2 separate regions of the Homo sapiens genome follow, and region 2 is linked to region 1. The links are contacts of gene promoters, found by promoter capture Hi-C in blood cells and fetal thymus (Javierre and others, 2016). All regions are on one chromosome and are shown on one strand. The core of a region is centred on a gene start or on the middle of the fragment in contact, and the rest is flanking DNA. Distances in the headings are between cores, read along the strand shown. Region 1 holds the start of STAP1 (signal transducing adaptor family member 1). Region 2 has its middle 43 kb from the start of TMPRSS11B.

The links. The method cuts DNA at HindIII sites, captures the fragments that hold promoters and counts their contacts. A CHiCAGO score of 5 or more calls a contact.
Region 2: a fragment that was not itself captured here is called in contact with the fragment with the promoter of STAP1 in region 1 in 1 of 17 cell types (total CD8 T cells); the score reaches 5.3 in total CD8 T cells.

What each region holds. Positions count from the first base shown.
Region 1 is chr4:67,557,258-67,560,449 of GRCh38, reverse strand. It overlaps STAP1 (signal transducing adaptor family member 1), which reads right to left and starts at 1,723. Exons shown (of 9, transcript NM_012108.4): 1 at 1,521-1,723. The coding sequence starts at 1,640. The HindIII fragment of the contact is 12,125 bases long and covers 1-3,192 here.
Region 2 is chr4:68,287,519-68,290,710 of GRCh38, reverse strand. No RefSeq gene overlaps it. Among named protein-coding and RNA genes, the nearest start is that of TMPRSS11B, 43 kb to the right of the region's middle. The HindIII fragment of the contact is 1,325 bases long and covers 789-2,113 here.

The DNA.
Region 1 (3,192 bases), core at 474-2,973:
TTCCATATTCTCCAGAAATGAGTGATGCTTGGTGCATAGGAGGCACACAATAAATGTTGAGTGAATAAATTGATTGAACACCTACTGAATCCTAGAATGTACCTTAGGAGGCAAGTAGCAAGTAGTATACTCTCTATCTTATAGTTGAAACAGTCTCAAGGAGATTGAGTAACTTGCACAAGATCACAAGCTATAAGTGGCAAAACCATCAGATAAAGGACACTCTAAAATTCTTATTCTTTCTGCTAACCATACCAATGACATGTCTTCTTTAAGCATTTAAAAAAAACTGCTATCATAAACAGTTATTATAAATACCTTGGAAAACATTCAATGAACAACCTGATTTAAATTACTAATTAGAATTTTTTTTTCTCAACTTCCCTTTCCTGGCAAAGTGTGACTATGTGGCTTACCTGTGGTGACAAGATTGAATTTACATTAAAAGCATATAGGATCAATCTAAAAAATTCTAATATAACTGAAAGGTAATTATTTATGCATGTTTAACATCCATAACAGAATACAAATTACCATGTCTTTACTCTCAAATAGTAAATGATCTGATTATATATGTAAGAAATGTGAATATGCTATTATAGATTTTTCATATATATAATTTTTCCACAAGTATTCATAAATCCTCAGAAAATATATTTTAGCATCATTAAACATTTCTGATGGAATTTCTGAAAACCTTAAAATTTTTCTAGTTTTAGTCAGTATACAATTTCATAAAATTTGACCTAACTTAATGATTTTTTTATTTAATAACAGGCAATTTTGGGCTTATTTCTCTAATTAATTTCAAGTCATCCATAATTACTGTTTTAAAAGTAATGATTTTAACTAACTATAAGTTTTAATTATTACATTTAAAAATACAGAATGCTTCATGGATTTTCTTAGAGCAAAGGTATTTATGTAGCTTAGTGTACTTAATACCCACAGTAGTACCCCAAAAATTAAAAGTCACTATCTTGAATAGTATTTTAGAACACATAACTATATATAATGTTAAACAGTATGAACTTTGTCATTTTAACAATTTTTACAAAAGCCATTTTTAATAATTTGATCATTATAAACTTCAAATGACTCAGAACAGGAGCAGGTTTAATTTTAATCATGATATCATTTTATCTTAATGGTACATGTCATCATTGAAGCATAGCAATAAATTGTGGAGAAAATACAAGAAACATTTTATCTCCCAAGCCAAAATCTTTTGTGATATTTAAATAAATTCTTTGGAAATTTAGCTTATTGACTTTTTTATATTAGTGCCTTAATATTACAACCTCTGTTATTATACATATTATATATGTGTATACATACAGGTTTAAGCCAGACATTGTATTTAAATTATGAAAAATTGGAATCATTTTTCTGAGCTCAAAGAAGAGAAGATGATTTAATTTCAACAGAAACAAGGAGGTCTTAACACATCACATCACCATGAAATAAATATTAAATTAAAACAGAAGTCTTAGGTTTAACATTATCATCTATAGACTCACCCGGTATCCTGACCGCTTGATTAATAAAAAACCTTCAAAGTACAAAGGTAGAGCAGTAATCTTTAACCTTTCCTGGAAGATCCTGCGAGGGGCTGGTTTTGGGGGCTTCTTAGCCATCATACCCCTCTCTTTGGTGTGTGGTTTGGTTTCTCGTCTCAAACAAAATGAAATCTTCCTTCTGTGAGAGGAAAAGGCAACTGTTCAAAGAGGAAGTCCCAAATTGCTTTTTAACCACCAACACTACCACCAACAGGACACACACACACACAGACGCACACACACACACACACACTTTTTTTTCCATTACTTTTTGTGAGGTAAGAAAGAACAGGTGTAGACTGACTTTCAGAGGGCAATCTCTGGGTAATCCACATGTGCTTAGATTTAAAGCGCAAAATAAACAGAAGATTAACATCACCAGAAGATGAAAGAAACAGGTGTAGAGATTGTGAACTTTAGGGGAGATATCAAGAACACAGTTATTCTTTCTATCTTTGTTTTTGTTTATTGGTGTCCATTTTTATTTGCAGAAGACATGACTTGAATAAACTCAGCTTCATTAAAAATTACTTCATAGAATAATTTTATTAGTACTACTTCTGTTGGTTAAATATTTTAGGGTCAAGTTTTGTGTAAATAAAAAAAATAGTTGTATCTCATGCTCATTTGATGCTTCACTAAATATAAACCACAATTATGGGAACACGGAATATGGAATTTTTTTCTTTTTTCTTTCTTTCTTTTTTTTTTTTTTTTGCCAGTAGATATTCCAAGTACATGAGTTCCCAATGAATATTTAGTGCTATGTTTTGAATGTGTCCTCCAAAACTTATGTGTTAGAAACTTAATCCCCAATGCAACAGTGTTTAGAAATGGGACTTTTAGAAGGTGATTAAGTCATGAGGCCTCTGCCCTCATGAATGAATGAATTAATTAATGCTGTGGGAGTGGGTTTCTTTCTCTTTTTTCAGAGGCAGGGTCTTGCTCTGTTGCCCAGGCTGGAATACACTGGTGCAATCACAGCTCACTGCAGCCTTGACCTCTCAGGCTCAAACAATCCTCACACATCAGCCTCCTAAGTAGCTGGGACTACAAGGCACGCGCCACCACTCCTAGCTAACTTTTTCATTTTTTGTATAGACAGTATCTCCCTATGTTGCCCAGGTTGGTCTCAAACTCTTGGGCTCAAGCGATTCTCCTGCTGTGGCCTCCCAAAGTGCTGGGATTACATGTGTGAGCCATTGCACCTGGCCTGGAAGTGGGTTTTTTATAAAATCAAGTTTGGCACTTTCTCACATGCTATCATCCTCTCTTGCTCTTCTATCTTCTGCCATGGAATGATGCTGCATGAAGGTCCTCATCAGATGCTGGCCATGTTCTTTGACTTCCAGACTCCAGAACCATGAGCGAAATACATTTCTGTTCATTATAAATTACCAGTCTGTGGCATTCTGTTACAGCAACACAAAGGAGTCTAAGATATTTGGCAAAAAAATATCTGGCAGAGAAAGCTGTAAGTTTTCAAACTTTTATTTTGTTCTTTTGTGCTTTCTGAGCTGCAGACCATTGATACTATGATTCATGGATGGACTTCCCACAGTTATCTAGTGAGATTTATAAAGCTATACTGGGGCCAAAGTGCACTCAATGGTTGCATGTAGGAAATGGTCCT
Region 2 (3,192 bases), core at 202-2,701, 730 kb before region 1:
TTGGATTTAAAGAAAATATGGTCTGTAATATATGCCTTTTGACTAGATTTTTAAAATCCATTTACATGTGGTGTTTTTATTATGATTAAATTTACGTTTGCTGTTTACTGTTGTCATATATATACATTTAATTTTTTCTTCTTTTTAAATATATATTTCTTTGCACTAAGTGAACATGTTCCATTTTACTATTTTTCATCGTTATTTCCTTAGTGATTGCTCTAGGGCTTACCAGATATATATGGTAAATTATCAGAATCAACTTCAGATTTATACTGACTTAAATCTCTGTCCTCTGTAGAGACATTATTCACATATAGTTCCAGTCTCTTCCCATTTTTGTGATATTAGTATTACTTTTATGAGTAAATACTAGGTATATATATTTATGGGGTATATGAGATATTTTGATACAGGCATACAATGTATAATTATCACATTAAATTAAATGGGATATCTATCCCCTTAAGCATTTATCATTTCTTTGTGTTACATGTGGTATTATTGTTATAGATATTGCATCTATGTATGTTACCAACACAACATTACATTGTTTTTATGACACTATATAATTGTATGTCTTTTTAGAAATGGAAACAATTTGGAGAGCAAGTATATATTTTTATCTTTGATTATACTAATCATATTATTTACCATTATTGGTTCTCTTTAGTGAAAGGTGAAAGATTTATACAATCTGAAGATAAATCAGAATATTATTGGTTCTCATTATTCGTTCCTGTGGATTCAGGTTGCTATTTGTTGCCATTTCTTACTCTAACAAAGCTTTGCTCCCAATCATCTCTTTTGTGCTGTTATTGACAGACATGTATATTTATAGGTGATATGCCCAACGATATGACTGTATGTATACATGCTCTATATACTTCCTTCTGAAGTTTGTTCAAAGAAAAAAGGAGAAGAAATGTAGATTTATACTATCTTTTATAATTGTATAATGACCTTTATTGGTGCTCTTTCCTTTATTGTGTGGATTAGGCTTGCTTAATTGGTTTCAATCTGAAGAGCTTCTTTTAGTGTTTCTTATAAGACAGGTTTGCTAGCAACAAGTTGTCTGTTTTTGTTGGCTTGGGAATGTATTTTTTTTTTATTTTTTATTTCCTTCAGTTTTGGAAAATAGTTTTGTGGTAGATAAAGTTCTAGGTTGAATTTTTTCTTTCATTAGTTTGAATATGACATGCTAGTGCCTTATGGGTTCTATAGTTTCTGATGATAAGTCAGCTATTCATGATTTTGGAGTGCCCTTGAACGTCATGAGCTGTTTCTCTCTTGTTTCTTTGCCATCTTCTGTCTTTACCCTCAGTCTTTCTCTATGATGTTTCTGTGATTGGATCTCTGTGTTTATCTTACTTGAAATTTGTTGTATTTCTGGCCTTTGTAAATTAATGTCTCATCATATTTGAAGAGTCTTTAGGCACTATTTTTGTAAGTTTTTTTCTGTTCCCTTCTCTTCTTTTTTTTCCTTTTCTATTACTTTCACTTTGTGTATGTTGAAATGCTTAAGATTGTCGCAAAATTCTGTAAGACTGTCTTCGTTTTTCTTTATTTTCTATCTTCTGTTCTTTGGGTTACACAATGTCTACTGACCTACCTTCAAGTTGGCTGGCTCTGTCTTCTGCTATCTCATATCTACTGTTGAGTTCTTGTAAATTTTTTTTAATTTCAGTTATTGCAGTTTTCAACTCCAATATTTCCATTTGCTTCTTTTTAAAAAATATAATTACTATCACTTTCCATATATCTTCTATTGGATACTGCATTGTTACTATACCTGCTTTTCCTCTTTAGTATTACTTCTTTTAGGTCTCTGAACATATTTATAATGATTATTTTGAAGGTTTTGCCTATTAAATCCAACACCTTGTCTCTTAAACAGGCAGGTTCTGTTGCCTGCTTTTGCCTCACGTGGGAATCATACTCTCCTGATTTCTTTTCAGCATGTCATTTAAATTTGTGTTAAAAACTCTACATGTTTGATAATAGATTGTAGCAACTGTAGATATTAGATATCCTCTTTCTGTGTATTTTAATCTGTGGCTGATGACTAGATGGACTATTTTAGCGAAGCCTCTTTCCTTTGCAGTGTTAAGCTTGATATTGCTATGCAAGGGTGCAGCCTTGGTATGCTCACATGTCCTGTAATAATGGTGGTTGCAGGAGGACATTCTTTGACTGCCTCTTCTACGGCTGAACCCTGCTGTTAGCCTTCACAAGTTGCTGATTGAGTGCTCTATTACTTTTGATAATGGCCTGAGAGTATAAATTGTTCCACAGTCTGATCCAATAAAATTCAGTGATTCTTTTGCAGCGATAGTTTTTGAGGTCAGTATTTGATCATTGCTCAGACCCCAGGAAGATTTTTTTCAATCTGTATCTTTGGTTTCCTCTAATAAATTAGTTTGCCTGTGGCTTAGCATTTATGTGTTCTGAAGCTAACAGCTTCCTCTTAATTATTTACCAGAAAGCCTCCGTGTTTTCAGAGCACTCTTAGGATTACAATTTTCACACTGTTTCAAATAAAGTAAGTTCCTTTGGGAAAACATTTGTAGCTCTGTGTTTATGGCCTGACTCTCCCCTGTGCAGAGTGTCTTGACCTTGACTATAGGACTGGGGGCATGGACAGTGGTGCATTTCTACTTTGGCCTTTATTCTCAGTTTTCCTCTCCTCTCATGGAATCTCCAACTGGGATAGTGGCTATTTGGTACTCAGTGTTCATGAATAGAACATCTGTGTTATGACAGTGGCTGGATGGAATATGGGAGATCCTTCTTAGCCACACTTGCCTGGAATTTAGCCTCTGTAACACATACTTGGGTATGTGCATGAAAAATTCAGGGCAACGTTGCCTCCCAACAAGATACCATAGTCCTCAACTGGGAGCTTCAAAAGTGGGAGCCCTGTGGTATTGTTTATACCTCTCTGGAATGATGGAGTTTCTGTTACCATGAATTAGGAGGTGGACAAATGAGCATGTTGTGGTTTAATTTCACCAAGAAATAGTGGAGTTTCTTCAGCACATATTTCTTTATTTGTTGTATGTCCTTAGGACAATTCTTAGAGACTGCAAATTATTTAAAAAAAAAAATCACTAGTTACTCCTGTTTTACTTGGGAGCTGGTCCATGGGACTTCCCATGCCATGATACCATTTGGAAAGTGACTGGTACAAGA